3 separate regions of the Homo sapiens genome follow, and all the other regions are linked to region 3. The links are contacts of gene promoters, found by promoter capture Hi-C in blood cells and fetal thymus (Javierre and others, 2016). All regions are on one chromosome and are shown on one strand. Each heading gives the region's core, a stretch centred on a gene start or on the middle of the fragment in contact. The rest is flanking DNA. Distances are from core to core; before and after follow the strand shown. Region 1 has its middle 55 kb from the start of CARMIL1. Region 2 has its middle 91 kb from the start of CARMIL1. Region 3 holds the start of SLC17A1 (solute carrier family 17 member 1).

The links. The method cuts DNA at HindIII sites, captures the fragments that hold promoters and counts their contacts. A CHiCAGO score of 5 or more calls a contact.
Region 1: a fragment that was not itself captured here is called in contact with the fragment with the promoter of SLC17A1 in region 3 in 4 of 17 cell types (megakaryocytes, M1 macrophages, M2 macrophages and 1 more); the score reaches 7.5 in megakaryocytes.
Region 2: a fragment that was not itself captured here is called in contact with the fragment with the promoter of SLC17A1 in region 3 in 1 of 17 cell types (M1 macrophages); the score reaches 5.8 in M1 macrophages.

What each region holds. Positions count from the first base shown.
Region 1 is chr6:25,222,665-25,225,742 of GRCh38, reverse strand. No RefSeq gene overlaps it. Among named protein-coding and RNA genes, the nearest start is that of CARMIL1, 55 kb to the left of the region's middle. The HindIII fragment of the contact is 1,739 bases long and covers 540-2,278 here.
Region 2 is chr6:25,186,465-25,189,544 of GRCh38, reverse strand. No RefSeq gene overlaps it. Among named protein-coding and RNA genes, the nearest start is that of CARMIL1, 91 kb to the left of the region's middle. The HindIII fragment of the contact is 1,483 bases long and covers 819-2,301 here.
Region 3 is chr6:25,830,674-25,833,607 of GRCh38, reverse strand. It overlaps SLC17A1 (solute carrier family 17 member 1), which reads left to right and starts at 1,556. Exons shown (of 13, transcript NM_005074.5): 1 at 1,556-1,614. The HindIII fragment of the contact is 946 bases long and covers 1,471-2,416 here.

The DNA of each region.
Region 1 (3,078 bases), core at 160-2,659, 610 kb after region 3:
TGCCTCAGCTCCCTAAAGTGCTAGGATTGCTGGTGTGAGCCACCATACCCAGCTTGTTTCTTTTATTCTCAGAATATTCTTAATATTCTCAAGAACATTCTTGGCCTCCCTTCCCTGCCATTTATAATGTTTCCTCCCTTGGTTTCTTTATTTTCCTTCATTCACACTCTGATTGCACCATTCAGTTTGACTCAATTGTAGTCAAATTCAACTCACAGGCTTGTTAACCCTAGTTTGGTGAACATCATAAGTCTTTCAGATGCTGGTTGGAAATGCACCTCCTCAATCCCTAACACTGACATTTAAGCAGCAGAAAGAAGAGGAGCAGCCCATGGTGAAGGCAACTGGAAAGGTCAGAGACCCAAGGAGAGATAAGATGAAAGTTATCAGTGGTGCCTAATGAAGAAGAACTGTTCTGTGAGACAAGGACTGAGAATGTTCCTCATGAGGACATCATTGATGACCTTGGTGAGAACAGTCAGCAGAAGTTTGAGAAATTATTGGGAGGTGCTGAAGCTGCCACAAGTACAGACCAAGCTTCTGAGAGAGTTGGATGATGACAGAAGGAGAAAGTGAAAAAGGGCTCAGGGTAGAGAGGCTTTTGTTTAGGATGGGAGAAGCTAGAGCAAGCCAATGTCAGCTGGGGCCTCCCTGGCTCTGTGAGATGTTGGTCCATCTTTGTAAACCTGGTCCAAAGCCACAGTCCAAGATTCCTTTTATGATTTCCCTAAATTTCTGAGGCTTGCTCCCTCATGCTTCTCTTTGTGTCCCCTGCCACATCTGTACCTGTGGTTTCAGATCCATCTTGTGGCACCACAGTGCGAATCTCAGCCTTCTCGCCAGTTTCTACACAAACACTCATGTTAATGGTAATCTATTGAGTTAACAATTTAACAAGGAACTTTAAGGTAGTTTGGAGGTGCTCCTGGAGAGGGGTTATACGCCCAACCACACTGCCCTCTGCCATCCTGCTGGCTCCTCCTCCGTTTTTCCCAACTTCCTCCTCCTTTAGAGCAAGGAATTACTTTTCTTGTCTAGAACTGAGTGATCAACCCAGAGTCAAGGTCTCGCCTTCAACCTCAATGGGCTTATCCATGAATTTTTCTAAGAAATCTCCAAAAGGAATTTTCATGCCATTTGCTAAGAGAATTCGATTCTCCTCTAATATGTCCTCTTGTCATATTAGCATTCGGGGGTGGGGGCGGGGCAAACAGTTTATGTAGACACAGAAATTGATGCATGTGGTGAAATGCTGGGAGACACCTGGAGGGGAGAGGAGGGCAGCTGTTCTATTTCTTGTGATTGGTGGGACAGGAAGCAAGAATGAGTGAAAATGAAGATAAACCTGTATGGGGGCAGGATGTGTATGGGGGTGGGATGGAAGAGTGAAGATTTGAGGGTTTGTGGGCTCAGTAGTCTCTGTGGGGGCAAGATCACTTGCTGACAGGGGATGGACAGAACTGAAGGTATGAGATTCTCGCTATAGAGAGGAGTGAGGGAAGGAGAAGGGATGAGGGGAGAGATGCTGTTTTTAGATAAGGAGAAGTATTGACAAGATGAATGGAGTATTCTTCTGAAATCGGAAAGTATACCTTTGTGAAGATACCAGTTCCCACGGTTGTACTTCTCTCTAGAAGCCCCAAATCACTAAGATATAGAAGCAGAGAAGGGGGATTTCAGGATTAATCTGGGGTTGGAGCTTGCAGAGCAGGACAGTGTGAGTTCTAGTGCTTTATTCTGAAGTCCTGGTGAAAAAGGGAAAATTGAGTAGGAAGAAGCCTGCCCATTAGCACTGGGTTGACATTCAGCTCCACTCTGGACCATGTTACCTTGGTGATAATGAAAGTGGAAGGAGGGATGCTTTTCTGCCAATTTTATCTAAGCGTCTTGGGCAGTTTTAATTTAAACGTATGATACTACCTCCATTTTTTCCTGGTATGATTCCTTTCATTTAATTAGGCTCTATTGGTGGAAAGTAGTTGATCTTTGATGACGTTGTTATCTCCTGAACATTATTATATCTCCCGCTCTGGTTTACAGGTTTTTCCTGACTCTTCTCTTCTGCATTACAGCTCAGGACTGCCACCCAGTGGCCTGTTAGCATAGAGCTCTGGAAATGCTGATTTTTTTCTTTAATACAGCCACAGAATAAGACAATAAGAAAATATTTGCTTCCTTGTTGGGGAAAGTAAAATGCAGAACTTCCTATTTACCAGCCAAACAAAAGAAGAATGCATTCTCTCAGGACCTCAGGGACTGTCAGAAAATAAGAAAAGCTTTTTTGACCTTAGTAACCTTTGACATGGTTCTCTGAGACCAAGTGTGTTTAGCCAGGAATTTATACTAAACAGGGAATGGAATGAAAGCAGGATCAGGATTTTGAAGAAAAATACCTCTCAAATTGGGGAGAGTTAGGCAAAGAGATTCTGAATGTAAAGTCATTTGGGGAAGACATAGGCCCTTGGATAAAGCATACTTTTTTTGTTTTCCTATTTTACTTTCTTCCTCACCCTTTAACACATGGAAGATGGGTCCCTGTGTCCTCCAGGTCTGATAGGAGTTGTCAGACTGCCGTTGTTTGAGTTACTTTATTTATTTGGAATTTCTGGATGTGAGAAGCTATGGAAGCCAAGTTCAGATTCAGCCATTCTAATTCTCTTATAAGATATCCTCTGTGAAACAGTGGTGTACATTTCAGTTTTGTTTTTGTAAAAATTGAGTATCAAAATTTTAAAATCCTACATGTTTTATTATCAAAAGATCACTTACAGGCATAAACTCTAGTATAATTTTTAATTTTTTGAATTGTAGATTGTCTTTTTCTTTTTTATCATAGACACTCTGAAAGCTAATTGGGATGACAGAGAAGAAAAAGAGAAAAGAAAGAATCTCGAATAAGAGGCCCAGTGGCCTCACTAGAAGGATGAGAAGATAAGACTTGCTCTAGAGGAGGAAAAATGGCAGCTTCCTTGCCCACTAAGGGGAGACACAGAGACCCTTGAATGCAATGTAGAGTGTCCTTCCTTAGCCCTTATAGCGGTTCTTCAAAGTTGCAACTGTTCCTACAAATGTTATTTA
Region 2 (3,080 bases), core at 311-2,810, 640 kb after region 3:
GAATAATCAATATTTATTAAATGCCCTCTTTGTTTTTGTGACCTCTATCTTCAAATAGGTTACCCCAGCCAGAAGGTTATTTATTCATTCAGTTTAGCTGAGATGGGTGGCAATATAGTATGATAATAAGGGTTTTGCATTCTATTTACTGCAAACCACATAGAAAGCATTCGTAGGGCAACTACTATGTTTGTAGTAAGGTGCTGTAGGGAAGATTATGGTCATAACAACCATTCCTTCAACAAATACTTAAAGTGTGCCTACTAGAAGCCAGCCATCATTGTAAGCACTGTGGATACAGAGGTAAATGTGGCAAAATTCCTTCTCATGTGGAGCTTATGATATACAATGGGACAGCACGGTGCAGTGGCTCATGCCTGTAATCCCAGTACTTTGGGAGGCTGAGGCGGGTGGATCACCTGAGGTTGGGAGTTCAAGATCAGCCTGGGCCAACATAGTGAAACCCCGTCTCTATTAAAAATGCAAAAATTAGCTGGGTGTGTTGGCGTACGTCTGTAATCCTGGTTACTTGGGAGACTGAGGCAAGAGAATCACTTGAACCTGGGAGGCAGAGGCTGCGTTGAGTCGAAGTCATGCCATTGCACTCCAGCCTGGGCAACAAGAGTGAGACTTTGTCTCAAAAAAAAAAAAAATACAGTGGGACAGAGAGATAATACACCCACCTACCACGCACACAATATAATGTCAGATACTGGTTTAAAAAAAAAAAACTGAAGAAAAAACAGAGTATATGGATATAGGGCTGTTATTATCACATACTTAAGCTTATCATGTAGCAAGTGCAGTACTTAGAAGCTTTATATCCATAACCTCATTTAAACCCCACAACCTACATAGAGTAGGAGTCATTATTTCTCTGTTGCAGATGTGGAAAAGAGGCTTTAAGAGGTGAAGTTCATATATCAAGTAAATGGAAGAGGTGTTGTATTTAAGAGCCTCTCCCCCTCTCTTCCCCCAATTCCCTCTAGGTCTCTCTCCTTTTCTCTCTCTCTCCCTCTTCTCCCTCTCAATTTCAAAACTTAAGGTATTATTCAGTATGATGGAGGCACAGTAGAAAGATGGAAGGTCATGTTAATACATAAAGAATGACCTCATTCTCAGTAACAATGGTCTTGTTATATAATCTGTCTGTCTCACTTTCCTCTTCTGCAGGATAATACCCACTACATAAAGTTTTAGGATGACATGAGAAAATATGTATAAATCAGAAGGAACATACCTCTTATCAAAAGTCCTCAGTACGTATTATATTGCTAAATATAATTGATGGGCATGTGGTGAAGAGACTGATAAATAATTGGGAGTTGGGGTACTTTCTAAGAGGTGCAGGTGGGACCTGATACACAAAGCATAAGTATATGGAGTAGATTGGGAGGGGCCTCAGTGTTTGGAGAAGGATTAGGAGGACATCAAAGCAAACCTTTGGTAGACTGTGTGAAGAAAGATAGCACCTTGATATTCAATAAAACTGTTTTCCAAAGTCAACAGCCATGAGTATTGTAGGTTGCTTTTTGGATCAATGAGAAGAATCTCAACTGTTGCTTCAATAGTGGTTCCTCAAATTGCCTGACAATCAAACTTATCTGGGAAACTTCTTACAAAGACACATTCAAAGTTCTGTGTCCTCCAAGGTGGAAATTTCCATGGTAGTATAAAAGGAACAAAACCATTTGTTCACTGCTATAACCCCAAAACCTAGAGCAGTACCTGGCATGTGTAGGATATTCAACTAGTGCTTGTTGACTGAATCTCCTTTATTTTTTCCTCCTTCCTATCTTCCTTTTGTTTTCCCCAAACACATAGGACATTCCCCTAACACATGTGAAATGCTCTGTGACTCTGTCCTGCATCTTCCCAGGGGTGGATTATGTGTGGAGAAAAATGTCACTTTGTCTTTGATGGGATTTAAGGGGGCATGGTCATGCCTGCTTGCTCCAAACTCTTCCTCACTCTGTTTGCTAGCATACCAGCAATGTCCACACGGCAGCTATTCCGTGTTGAGATCATGCATTTCCTGAAAACCCCTACTGCTACTACATAACGCATTGCACTGAGAAGGAGAGTGACTGGGTGAAATCACTTTAACTCTCAGCTTCTCACTCATTTGCGCTGGTTAGGCTATGAGAAGGCTTGCTGCCACTTTGAGTAGCAGAGGGGCCAGGTCCTGAAGGAATGAGACAGGGCAGTATTGATGGGAAAGAGCAGGAAGGAAAAGTCCCAGGGCTTAGGGGTGGCAAGCTAGGAGGAGTACCCAGAAAGATGGCTGGTGTGGAGGAAGCTTTTGGGGGATGGTGGCATTTGATGAGCATGGGAGGTGTTCCCACTTAAGAGAGACTTTTCCTGAGCAACACTTTGAGTCAGGTTGGTAGGGTGTTATTAATGGCTCCAAGTGCTTGGTACATAGTTGACTCACCTGCTGAAACACTTGCTGAGTTAGCGGTTCAATTTCACAGATGTTTTTAAGTCTTGGGTATGCAGAGACTGACCTCTGTGTGACTGTCACAGAGCCTGACATTCCCAGAAGACAGATTCACAAGTTTTCACCCTTTCTAGCACTATGTGAGCTCTGATGATTGTTTCCTCACGTTAATTTAGTGGTTCTTCCCCTGACCTTGGGCATTCTCCCACACACATGCACTGATCAGCACTTAGCTGAATGTTTGAGGGGGACCTTCTGTAGGTCTTCAAGTTTTCCCAGGGCAGCTCTCATGTCTTTGGTGCTCTGCCCTAGGCACTCTAGCCACCTTACTCTCCAGACTCTCAGCTGTCTCCTCAGTTCCAGGATACCTCCACAAAGGTGCCTCTTCCCTGCCCTGTGACCTGAAAAAACTTCCTCCAAATAGTATACTGGGGCAATCATTGGCTCACATCATTTATTTCCTGTTTCTTGGAGATCACCATTCTTCATTGTCTAATTTGTTCTAAGACTCGCTGTTTCACGTATTTGTCTTTTTGTTGTTGTTTCAGAGAGGAGGATAAATCTGGTCTTTCTTACTGCATTTTGGCCAGAAATGGAAATACATGAGTTATTCTTAATGCTTTTGTTTCCTACTCACTTT
Region 3 (2,934 bases), core at 307-2,806:
TAATAAAATGATAAATTTAAAAATTTAATACATAAAACACAGAATCCAAAAGAAACAATTTCAAAGAATCTCACAGAGCAGCAGAAAGCTTTGGGGCCAGCAAACAGAAAGATGGTTCTCCTTCAGGTAATCAGTATCCAGAACTGGGATACTGATGGCAGATGGGAGTGTTATTATTTAACACATGGACTTTGAACAACTGCTGACCTAGGGGTTTCAATCACTAAAAGGGCTCCTCTTTCAGAAAATGCCAGAAATTGCCCAGCATGAAACAGGACAGTACAAACATTCTGCAACACACAGAAGAGGACCAGCAGAATCTGGACTTTTGAAAAAGAAAAAATCTAACTGAATAACAACATCAAAGTCTCCTGGGCAAAGGGGTTAAAGATTTACAACATTTCTTTAGAGGAAAAAAATAACTGGTTGAATTTACAGAGCATCTGCTATGTGCCAAACATTTAATGAGCACTTTAAAAGCATGATAAAAATTAAAAAAAAACTTGTTAAGCATGAAATAAATTACCTATAATGCAAAATCACTGATTTTAGTGCTTGGATATTTTTAAGTAATTAGTAGATTACCTTCAAAGAGTTCTAAGTTAAAAGTATTAGGGGCCAGGCACGACGGCTCACGCCTGTCATTCCAACACTTGGGAGGCCAAGGCACAAGGATTGCTTGTGGCAGGAAGTTTGATATCAACCTGGGCAACACAGCAAGACCCTGTCTCTACCAATTAGCTGGGTACAGTGTTGCATACCTGTAATCCCAGCTACTTGGGGCTGAAGTGGAAGGATCCCTTGAGCTCAGGAGTTCAAGTCTGCACTGAGCTATAATTGCACCATAGCACTCCAGCCTGGGTGACAGTGTGAGATCCTGTCTCTCTATGTTTTTTTTTTAATGTTTCTGGATATTGCTATAACCAAGTGGATGAACCAGAACCTACAGTAATTGCAGGAAGAGCCATGAGAGAAGCCACACCTTCCAGAGGACATGCCTCAATAAAATGTACCTCTTTCTGAGTATGCTGAATGTCAAACAGATGTACTGTTTAGAGAGGAGTGTGGAGGAGACAGGGTGAGGGAAGGAGGGAAAGCAAGGAAGGAGGGAGAAGGAAGAAGGGAAAGAGAAGGAAGAAAGAAAGAAAAAAGGAAGAAAAGGAGGAAGAAAGGAAGGAAGGGAATTAAGAGTAAAAATTTAATATGGCATTTATGGGGCATTTAGAAAGCCACAACATTCCTGTGAGAACAGCATTGTATACTCAGAGCCATCCTTAATAGAGAAATCTTGAGAGCACTTATGGCAGGCAAGCTCTACCTCCTGGGCAGGGAGAGAGACTAAGGGTGTCTGCTTATTATGCCATGAAATTACTGGCAGATTCCCAGTTTCTGGTCCACTGGATGATTTTGACCCACACACCTTCCCTGAAGCTTTAAGGAAAAGGTAACAGTAAAGTTAAAAATTAAGCTTTTAACTTCGACACAGTGATGTCAAAAGATTTGGTGAATGATTTATGGGGCTAAACTTGGTAATCCTAGAAAGTCAATATTGTGTAAAGTTGAGAGAAAAGTCTTCACAGCGGAAGAAGAAATCACTTTTTTGTCCCGAATCAGGTTAGTCTACGGGGCTCATTAAATGAAATGAGCAATCAGTTGATTCCCCAGAGGGCCGTAAGGGGGCATTCCCTGGCAAAGATATTATTGAAAGTACTTAGCAATAGGGGAAAATGTGGGGAGGGGTGGAATATGCCCTATCTTCTGAGGCTTTTCACAAGAGAAAAAAGAACATATTTTTAGCAATCAGTGTGAGGTTCACAGGGACACAAGGAAAGAGAAGTATGTGTTGTACAGTGTGTGATGCTTGTATAGCTGTGGTGTGCTGTGTCTGTAATGTGTGTGGCACACTGTGTACGCCTGGTGCATCTGTGCCCATCATTTATGTGTGTGTGTGGTTATGTGTGTGGTGTTTGTAGTTTGTACTTCCGTTTTGAGGATGCAGTATTGTAACGTATTTATATGTTTGGTTTGCTATGTGTCTGGAGTGTATGTGTGGAGAACATAAGGGGAGTTTGTACCATGTGTTTATGTTGTATGTATGTATGTGGTGCATACGTATGGGTGGTTTGTGTGTGCATTTGGTGTGTATGTATATATGTATTGAAATAAACAGCAGCCCCAGAAGAGGTTCCAATGTGTGATAATGATGGTTGACAAATTGCTTATTCAAAAATATTTTGCAAATCCAATCTCAGGACTTTGGTATCTTTGGGGCACTAGGTATCATATAATCTGATATGGTAAAATCCTGAGGTCTAACCTGACCAGCACATATTGGTGCTGAATTCTGATGGTAAGGGGTTGCCTGATAGGAGACTGCTCCATTCTGATTCTCCACTGAGCTTCCTGCCATAAAGCTTTGCATCAGTGGCTGCTCTATCCACGGAAACTGAAGATACGGACAGGGGCATGTGGACGTGTAACGAATGATTAGCCTCTGCTTGAGTTGATCTTATCAATAAGCAGATAGTATCTTCCAGCTCTATTAAGATACAGGGGGAAAAAAGGAATTTGTTTTACCTTTGCTTACTCCTTTTCTGACATTCTTCCTTTCTTTTCATACTGCCGAGTTTCTGACCTATAGCAATCTCCTTCTGCCTGAAAGGCTTCTTTTAGTGTTCCTTACAGGGCAGGTCTACTGGCAATGAATTCTTTCCATTTCTCACTTTGGAGGAATATTATCACGGATTTAGAATTCTGGATTGGCAGGGTTATTTGTTTGTTCTCTGTAGTTTTCAGGTCTTCCATATATTTTTAATCAACCAAAACAATCACAAAAGTAAAATAAATATCAAGGGAAGCACATAATGGAGGTGAATGGGCACTGCTGTGATGGAGCAAGTTATCCTTGGAAGCGGTTTTAAATCAGAGAGGAGT